Linked DNA regions of Homo sapiens: region 1 is linked to region 2. Evidence: promoter capture Hi-C in human tissues and cell types (Jung and others, 2019). All regions are on one chromosome and are shown on one strand. The core of a region is centred on a gene start or on the middle of the fragment in contact, and the rest is flanking DNA. Distances in the headings are between cores, read along the strand shown.

Region 1 (4,730 bases), core at 145-2,644, 100 kb before region 2:
TACGGTTTCATATGTTACTGATTGTACAGTGAGATCCTAGGTGAAACCTACATCAAATACAGCGCCATGTTGCTTCTGGTTGGTCGCAGCCAGCTTGGTCCTCATCCTATTTTTCAGGGACTTATTGGCCCTTGGCACATGCAGCTATTTCAAGTTTCCTTCTTCTGGTCATGTGAAACTGCTGCCTGGGATTTTCTGTTGTCTTGCTAGCACTCTATTAATCTCACATTCTCGCCTCTTTTCTGTGCCACCCCCTGCTGGTCCGGCTGGTTTTCACTAGAGTGCAATACAAAGTCTCAGTCAAGAGGGCCTCCTGAAGGTTGCTGAGGGCAGGGGTGGAGCTAGTAGCCGGAGGACCTGCCAGTCATGGGGATTCCTCAGGGGCACAGAGGAGGGAGGAGGGGCCTGTGGCCCTAGCAGGGGAGCAGCCTCTCCTCTGCCTGGAAATCCCATGCCTCAGTTTTCCCCGCTTGCCTCTGAGCTCACGCAACCCTGGGAAGGCTTGGGAGACTCACCTTTACTCAGATGGTTGTTTACCTGTCTCGTGCCCAGCTTGACCCTGGACTTTAAATAGTGAGGACAAAGAACGAGGAGGGTGGGGGGATGCACTCCTTCCACGGGGCCCTGTGGCTTCCAAGCCTCAACCTCCTCTGGCCTCTGTCTGTGGAGCCTCCTTCAAACCCATGGAAAGAAAAGTACCTGCCAGGGGCTGTGGTTCTTCTAGGATCTTCTATCGATGTTCTGTGAGGTCCCCAGGGAGCCATGAAGCTGGGGCTGGCTCCCAGGGCAATGGGACTGCAGTGTCCTTGTTCTTTCTTGTTCTATGGATCCATGCTCTGCTCCACCCCTGCCCCTTCACTCTGCCCACACGCATCACTCCAGACTGGCCTTGTGGTCAGAGCCTGGAGTGCATGGGCTGCTGGAGGCCTGTGGGTTGCACTGGGCCAGGACCCCTGGCACCTTCAAGACTGGCCTGGAGCCAGCAGGTAGGTGACCTTTCCAGGGCCTGCCTATCCCATCTTTCTCCTCCAATCCCTCCCCTCTCTTGCCTGGGTCAATTAGAGAAAGCTTGTCTTTTGGAGTTCAGGGGCAGGTCAGGAGCCCAGTGACAGCTCAAAAAAAAAAACCCACAAAAACAAACCCACCATTGGGCCCTTTCCCCTTTCATTCTTCTGTTTTCTACACACCAAACCCAGTCGTGGCTTTGGAGATCACTTTAAGCTTGTCTCCAGCTGGCAAACTAAGGAGGGTAATAGAGAAGCTCCCCCACCCCCAACCCTACCCCTTCCTTCCGGAAGCAAATCTAAGTCCAGCCCCGGCTCCAGATCCCTCCCACACTGACCTAAGAAACCCTCAGCACAGACAACACCCCTGCATTCCCCACACAACACCCACACTCAGCCACTGCGGGCGAGGAGGGCACAAGGCCAGGTTCCCAAGAGCTCAGGTGAGTGACACACCGGAATGGCCCAGGACGCCCTCACCCTGCTCAGCTTGTGGCTCCAACATTCCAGAAGCCGAGGCCTCTGCTATCCCTGCCCTCTCCCCATGGATATCCCATTTCAGACAACCCCGGCCGGCCTGAATCCCCCTCCCTTCCTTTTTTTTTTTTCCGGGGAGGCCAGGTCTTGCTGTCACCGAGGCTGGAGTGCTGTGGGATCCTGGCCACTGCAGCCTTGAATTCCTGGGCTCAAGTGATTCTCCTGCCTCAGTAGCTAGGACTACAGACCCTCACCATCCTGCCTGGATAGTTTTAAAAAATATTTTTAAAAGATTTTTAGAGATGGGGTCTTCCAATGCTGCCCAGATTGGTCTCCAAATTCTGGCCTCAGCCTCCCTAGGGTCTGGGATTACAGGTGGGAGCCACCCTGCCCAGGATCCTCCTTTTGCTGAGTCATCACAGTTTTGCTCATTCCCACATCAGGCTCTGGCCCCCAATACCAGCTCAGTTGCTCAATGGGCTGTTTGTCCTGGAGCCCAGATGGACTGTGGCCGGGCAAGTGGATCACAGGCCTGGCCAGCCTAGGAGTTGCCACATGTGAGGGGCCGAGGGGCTCAAGGAGGGGAACATCGGGGAGAGGAGCCTACTGGGTGGAGGCTGGGGGTCCCAGCAGGAAATGGTGAGACAAAGGGCGCTGGCTGGCAGGAAGACAGCACAGGAAGGTCCTAGAGGTTCCTCAGTGCAGCTGGACTCTCCTGGAGACCTTCACACACCCTGACATCTGGGCCCCGCGCCACGAGGGTGCTTTCACTGGTCTGCACCATGGCCCAGGCCCTGGGATTTTGAACAGCTCCGCAGGTGAATGAAAGGTGAGGCCAGGCTGGGGAACCACCACATTAGAGCCCGACCTGGTTTTCAGCCCCAGCCCCGCCACTGACTGGCCTTGTGAGTGCGGGCAAGTCACTCAGCCTCCCTAGGCCTCAGTGACTTCCCTGAAAGCAAGAATTCCACTTTCTTGCTGTTGTGATGGTGGTAAGGGAACGGGCCTGGCTCTGGCCCCTGACGCAGGAACATGGAGCTGATCCAGGACATCTCTCGCCCGCCACTGGAGTACGTGAAGGGGGTCCCGCTCATCAAGTACTTTGCAGAGGCACTGGGGCCCCTGCAGAGCTTCCAGGCCCGGCCTGATGACCTGCTCATCAGCACCTACCCCAAGTCCGGTAGGTGAGGAGGGCCACCCACCCTCTCCCAGGTGGCAGTCCCCACCTTGGCCAGCGAGGTCATGCTCACCTCAGCCTGCTCACCTCCCATCTCCCTCCCTCTCCAGGCACCACCTGGGTGAGCCAGATTCTGGACATGATCTACCAGGGCGGTGACCTGGAAAAGTGTCACCGAGCTCCCATCTTCATGCGGGTGCCCTTCCTTGAGTTCAAAGTCCCAGGGATTCCCTCAGGTGTGTGTGTCCTGGGTGCAAGGGGAGTGGAGGAAGACAGGGCTGGGGCTTCAGCTCACCAGACCTTCCCTGACCCACTGCTCAGGGATGGAGACTCTGAAAAACACACCAGCCCCACGACTCCTGAAGACACACCTGCCCCTGGCTCTGCTCCCCCAGACTCTGTTGGATCAGAAGGTCAAGGTGAGACTGGGCACAGTGGTTCACACCCGCAATCTCAGTACTTTGGGAGGCTGAGGTGGGAAGATCCCTTGAAGCCAGAAGTTCCAGATAAGTCTCTTCCAAAAAAAAAACTTAGCTGTGCATAGTGGTGTGTGCCTGTAATACCAGCTACTCAGGAGGCTGAGGTGGGAGGATCATCTGAGCCTAGGAGTTTAAGGCTACAGTGAGCTATGATCACACCAGTGCACTCCAGGCTGGGTGACAGAGAAACACTGTCTCAAAAAACGATGAATAGAAAGAGTGTCCCACCAGTGCGGTGGCTCACACCTGTAATTCCAGCACTTGAAGAGGCTGAGGCAGGTGGATCACCTGAGACTAGGAGTTTGAGATCAGCCTGGCCAACATGGCAAAACCCCATCTCTACTAAAAATACAAAAAAATTAGCCGGGCATGGTGGCAGGCATCTGTAATCCCAGCTACTTGGGAGGCTGAAGCAGGAGAATTGCTTGAAGCTGGGAGGCAGAGGTTGTAGTCAGCCGAGACCTCACCATTGCACTGCAGCCTGGGAAACAAGAGCAAAACTCTGTCTCAAAAAAAAAAAAAAAAAAAAAAAAAAAGCGGCAGGTGGCAGGGGGCTGGGCCTGTTGTGGCTCACGCCTGTAATACCAGCACTTTCGGAGGTCGAGGTGGGCAGATCACCCAAGGTTAGGAGTTTGAGATCAGCCTGGCCAACATGGAGAAACCCCGTCTCTACTAAAAATACAAAAATTAGCCAGGCGTTGGGGCAGGCGCCAGTAATCCCAGCTACTCGGGAGGCTGAGGCAGGAGAATAGCTTGCACCTGGGAGGCGGTGGTTGCAGTGAGCCGAGATTGTGCCACTGCACTCCAGCCTGGGAGACACAACGAGACATTGTTTCAAACAAAACAAATAAATATTTTAAAAGGTTTGCCACCTGGGTGGCTCACCGCTGTAATGCCAGCATTTTGGGAGGCCAAGATGGGTGGACCGCTTGAGCTCAGGAGTTCCAGACCAGCCCAGGAAACATGGGGAGACTCCATCTCTATAAAAGATGCAAATAATCAGCAGGGCATGGTGGCATAGCGCTATAGTCCCAGCTACTCAAAAGTCTAAGGTTGGAGGATTGCTTGAGCCTGGGAGGTCAACGTTGCAGTGAGCTATTCTCACTCCAGTGCACTCCAACCTGGGCAACAGGAAAAAAGAAAGCCCAAGGTCTTTTTTCTCTTTTCTCTTTTTTTTGAGACCTAGAGTCCCCCCCCCCAAAAAAAAAAAAAAACCACAACAAAAAGAAAAAAGCAAAGGTCCAGGTGTGGGGCATGTGAATCCAGGGAAGGAGGCCCCGGCTCAGCCCAGCTTTGGTCCTGTTCTTCTGGGAGAGTCGCCTCACTTCCTCCAGACTTGTCTCATCTTCCACGGGGGGGACTGTCTGCCTTTTGCTCTGATGACCAAAAACATGAGACTCTTCCGGGTAGACCTAAGAAAGGTAGAGGGTGGGTCCTCACAGGCCCACAAAATTTGGTGGTGGTGGGAACATGCCTGGTGGAGCATGCCTTGCTCCAGATCGGGGTGTGACGCATTGATGCAGATTATATTACTATAGAATATGATGGTCTCAGGGACCAGGCAGGACTTTGGCTTTTGAGCAGGGTTCAGAT
Region 2 (5,089 bases), core at 1,995-4,494:
CACTTCATGTCTTCTGTCATCTCCAGGCCCTCTCAGCCTTCCAGCCCCCTCGTTTTGGCTGCCTCTAAGGCCCTCCAGGTCCTCCTGGGCTTCCTCCTCTACAATCTTCCCTGTCTTTCCCACCGCCACCACCCCCAGTTCCTCAGCCGCCTGCGCCTCCCGCTCTACAGTGGGGACTGCATCTCCCAGGAGGTAGGAGACAAAGGTGCCGAGGGAATCCTAGGAAAAAAGAGAGAGAGAGGGGAGAGTCATTGAGGAGAGTCCCAGCCCTTTCCCTGGGGGCCCTGGCTGGAGGAGCCCAGGTTAAGGAAGAGGGTACTGGGATCTGAAAGGAGAAGAAGAGGATTTGCAGAAGGAGCCAGAAGGGGCATCGATTAGGGGTACGAGGACGCATGGTTGGAGGTGGGGACTGAAATTCAGAAAATATTAGGCCAGGAGTCTGCCTGAACCTGAGAAAGCAATCTCCAGTTTGAGGAGATCAGAAGGAGGAGGGGAAAGGTGAGGCCCCAGGGGAGGTGCCCGGAAGTGAGGCCCCAGGGAATGGGGTGCAAGTATCTGGCAGCTGTCTGCCCTTCTCACCAGTGCCCCCCTCAAGGCCTGGTGCAGCCCAGGGAGGTATAGCCGGAGGAAGTCCATCCTGTCTGTCTCTGTCTGTGTGTCCAGAAAGCTGATAATGACCGTCCCCACCCACCAAGACAAGCCAACCTTCCCCAGGACCAAAGGCACTTCCTCTTCCCCTGTCTCCCTGATGCGTCCCCACCCCAGGCCCTGCCCACGGCCCCTGATGCCCACAGTAGCCCCCACTGCAGCCCGGGAAATGGGTGTACATCACACAGGGGACTCAGGTGCACATTTGGAAATAAAGGACAAGCAAGAGGCCAGAAAGGACAAAGTGGGAGCAGGAGACCTTAGAACTGGGGAGGGGGAGAGGGAGGGGACATGTGGCAACAGCAGCTCAAGTGACTCAGGTCTCGTATCCGCACCTCAGCCATTTCTGCCTCCCCTACAAGCCACAGCCACTCTGCAAGAGGAAGCTGGGGTTTGTGGTTCCTGTTTTGCCTGGGAAGAAAGAGTAGCAGTGAAGAGGGGGCTGGTGGGAGCTCTGACACATTTCGGCGTCATTAATGCTTCCCCCAGGGGCGGAAGGGGCCGGATTGGTGGCTCTGGGGTGCATCCCCTCACCTATGATTAGGCTTGCAAAAAAGAACTTGGCTAAACTTTATATTGTGGATATCTGTGTCTGCCTCCCACCTTCCTGTGACTTCCTTGATGGCAGATGCCATGTATGAAACGCTGCTGAATTTCTAGAGCCCTGCACGTTAGTAGGATTCCATTTTCCATCAGCTGAGTGACCTGGGAGGCACACTAGAGAGGGCACATTTCTTTTCTTTTCTTTTCTTTTTTTTTTTGAGACAGTCTCACTCTGTCACCCAGGCTGGAGTGTAGTGGCGCAGTCTCAGCTCACTGCAACCTCTGCCTCCTGGGTTCAAGTGATTCTCCTGCCTCAGCCTCCCGAGTAGCTGGGATTACAGGTGCGTGCCACCACACCTGGTTAATTTTTGTATCTTTAGTAGAGACAGGGTTTCACCATGTTAGCCAGGCTGGTTTCGAACTCCTGACCTCAGGTGATCTGCCCACCTTGGCCTCCCAAAGTGCTGGGATGACAGGCATGAGCCACCACACCCAGACGAGAGGGCACATTTCCAACTGCATTCTGAAGGCCTGGTGGTGAGAAAGAGCATATAGAGGTGGCACAGCCCATAGCAGAGATGAGGCCAAGGACAAGAAGAGAATGCAGGATGCCGCTTTCCACCTAGAAGAAGGTAAGGGTATGATTCCTTATTTGGAACTACATAAAGTGACCTTGCTCTACTTCTCTTCCCCATACCCTCCTTCTCCCCTCCCCAGCCCCACTTTCCTATTCCAATTAGGGCAATTCTATGAAATCACAGCATCAGAATCTTAGGCCTTAAAATCATTTAGTCTGGCCAGGTGCAGTGGCTCACGCCTGTAGTCCTAGCACTTTGGGAAGCCAAGGCAGGTGGATTGCTTGAGCTCAGGAGTTTGAGGCCACCCTGGGCAACGTGGCAAAATCCAGTCTCTACAAAAAACACAAAAATTAGCTGGGCACAGTGGTGCGCACCTGCTGTCCCAGCTACTCGGGAGGCTGAGGTGGGAGGATCACCTGAGCCTGGGAGGTCAAGGTTGCAGCAAACCAAGATCCTGCCACTGCACTCCAGCCTGGGCAACAGAGCAAAACCCTGTCAAAAAAAAAAAAAAAATCTGGTCTAAGCACCACCTTTGATGGAGGCAGGAATCCTGCAGCAGCCTGGAGCCAACCCAATGGCTCCCTGCCTCTGGTGCTCTATTTCTTATCACCATACAGGTCTCTAAGGTCACCTTTAGGTCTAACATTGTATGAATGATTGTCAGCAACTTTCCAATTTTTTTCATATACATATATTTTTTTTATTTTATTTTTTACTTTTTCTTTTTTTGAGACAGGATCTCACTCTGTCACCCAGGCTGGAGTGCAGTGGCGTGATCATAGCTCACTGTAGCTTCAACCTCCTGGGCACAAGTGATCCTCCCACCTCAGCTTCCAAGGTACCTGTGACTACAGGAATGCGCCACCATGCCCGGCTAATTTTGTTATATATATATATATATATATTTGTACCTTGGTTTTCTCATCTGTAACACCAGGGGTTGAAGTGCTGTGATATTTTTTGGTTCTAGGATAATTTGGAAATAGGGATCTCTTAACATCTTGGATACTGCCAATAGATCATTCACGAAATCCCTTTAGATGAGTGTTATGTTTACTTAGGTCTCTAAAACAATTTGTAAGGTCAACAGATGGGGATAAGAATGACCTGAAGCTGGTCGTCTTTGTTCGCAACCAGAAACAGTCCTGCCTCAAAAAAAAAAAAAAAAAAAAGGGAGTAGGCAGGTGGCCATATTTGTTTCTGGCAAGTGAGTGCTGAAGGAAAGGAGCTGAAGCCTCCCACAGTCATAACTGGTGCTGGCAGGCTACTGTCTCGGTCTTGGGCGCCACTGATCTAAGGTCACGGCTCTGCTTGCTGCTCCCACCCGCTCCAGTTTAAAACCTGCGGTTCCAGGGTTCTCCAGCCCCTCCCTTTTTCACGCTCCGAAGCCGAGAAGGCCCAAAGCGAAGACAGAGAGGACCCGGAAGTAGGGAAAACCTCTGAGCACGTGATGGGGGAACACGCGGGTGCTGTCACGTGATCCGACAAACGGCCTCTGCATAGTGCAGAACATTCTGCTGCTCTTAAAGGTACAGGCCTCAGGGTCCCTGCTGTAGACGGGGCGGGGGAGAGTACGATGGGTGGGGCGTGGTGGGTCGTAGGGCGCTCGAGATGGAGCCCCCAGCTTCCTTGATGGATCGCGGGGCGCGAGTGCCCTAGACAAGCCGGAGCTGGGACCGGCAATCGGGCGTTGATCCTTGTCACCTGTCGCAGACCCTCATCCCTCCCGTGGGAGCCCCCTTTGGACACTCTATGACCCTGGACCCTCGGGGGACCTGAACTTGATGCGATGGGAGGCTGTGCAGGCTCGCGGCGGCGCTTTTCGGATTCCGAGGGTGAGTATTCCCGCCCACCCTCATGGAACGACCACCTCTGGCTCGCAGCCCACCTGAGGGGAATGAGAGCTGACTCGGCCCCGGGAGGACACGCAAGGAGCGGTCGTGCACCTGAGAGTAGGTGGGGGTCATGCCCTCTTCTCGCTCTCCCAGGGGAGGAGACCGTCCCGGAGCCCCGGCTCCCTCTGTTGGACCATCAGGGCGCGCATTGGAAGAACGCGGTGGGCTTCTGGTGAGTGGCCTGAGACTTCAGCGAGTGACAATGGCATGAGAAGAGGGAAGTGACCGGAGGAAAGGGGGAAGAAAGAGTTAAGCTGCGCAAAGGAGCTGAACCCACAAATATTTACTGAATCCACTGGTTTGCCCCAGGGGCAGCATGTAAAATTTCCAAACTTCACTCCTTATCACCTTCCGGATTTAGCAAGATCCTCATACCTACCACCTGTAGGATTATTTACTTTTTTCTTCCAGCCAATTCAGCCTTAACGTTTTTTAGTGCACATATTTTTAAAAAGAAAACTTTAAATCACGACTCCACTTGGAAAACCAGCGTTTTCCTAGTGAACGTTTAAATAAATGCATCACTACTAAAACTTTTTTATTTTTTTAATTTATTTTATTTTATCTTATTTTTTTTTCTTTTTGAGACAGGGTCTTGCTCTGTTTCCCAGGTTGGAATGCAGTAGTGCAATCACAGCTCCCTGCAGCCTGGAACTCCTGGGCTCAAGTGATTCTCCCACCTCAGCCTCCAAGTAGGTGTGGCTACAGGTGTGCACCACCGCATCTGCCTAATTTTTATATTTTTTTATAGAGATGGGGGTCTCACTATGGGACCTGGGCTGGTCTCAAACTCGTGGCCTCAAGTGATCCTCCTACCTCAACCTTCCAAAGTGCTGAGATTACAAGCATGAGCCACCATGCCGGGCCTGAACCTTTTTTTTTTTTTTTTTTTTTGAGACGGAGTCTCTCTCTGTCCTCCAGGCTGGAGTGCAGTGGCGCAATCTCGGCTCACTGCAAACTCCGCCTCCCAGGTTCACACCATTCTTTTGCCTCAGCCTCCGGAGTAGCTGAGACTACAGGCGCCTGCCACCACGCCCGGCTATTTTTTTGTATTTTTAGTAGAGATGGGGTTTCACCGCGTTATCCAGGATGGTCTCGATCTCCTGACCTCGTGATCCGCCCGCCTCGGCCTCCCAAAGTGCTGGGATTACAGGTGTGAGCCACCGCGCCCAGCTTTTTTTTTTTTTTTTTTTAATTTTATTTTATTTTTGAGACAGAGTCTCACTCTATCACCCAGGCTGGAGAGCAGTGGCACAATCTCGGCTCACTGAAACCTCCACCTCCAAGGTTCAAGCTATTCTCCTGTCTCAGCTCCCCGAGTAGCTGGGATTACAGGTGCGTGCCACCAGACACAGCTAATTTTTTGTATTTTTAGTAAAGACAGGATTTCACCATGTTGGTCAGGCTGGTCTAGAACTCCTGACC

What was found. Contacts are between HindIII fragments. The study calls those that stand out against the background at their distance.
Region 1: a contact is called between the fragment with the promoter of SULT1A2 here and the fragment with the promoter of CLN3 in region 2, in 2 of the 25 tissues and cell types used here (mesenchymal stem cells and small bowel).

The regions. Positions count from the first base shown.
Region 1 is chr16:28,593,714-28,598,443 of GRCh38, reverse strand. SULT1A2 (sulfotransferase family 1A member 2) reads left to right here and starts at 1,394. Exons shown (of 8, transcript NM_001054.4): 1 at 1,394-1,447; 2 at 2,510-2,661; 3 at 2,769-2,894; 4 at 2,980-3,077. The coding sequence starts at 2,514. RefSeq lists an enhancer at 1,162-1,456. The HindIII fragment of the contact is 13,947 bases long and covers 1-4,730 here.
Region 2 is chr16:28,490,229-28,495,317 of GRCh38, reverse strand. It overlaps CLN3 (CLN3 lysosomal/endosomal transmembrane protein, battenin), which reads left to right and starts at 3,244. Exons shown (of 16, transcript NM_001042432.2): 1 at 3,244-3,298; 2 at 3,483-3,604; 3 at 3,758-3,836. The coding sequence starts at 3,559. APOBR (apolipoprotein B receptor) reads right to left here and starts at 675. Exons shown (of 4, transcript NM_018690.4): 1 at 580-675; 2 at 1-219. The coding sequence starts at 636. RefSeq lists enhancers at 3,034-3,233, 2,573-3,362. The HindIII fragment of the contact is 23,586 bases long and covers 1-5,089 here.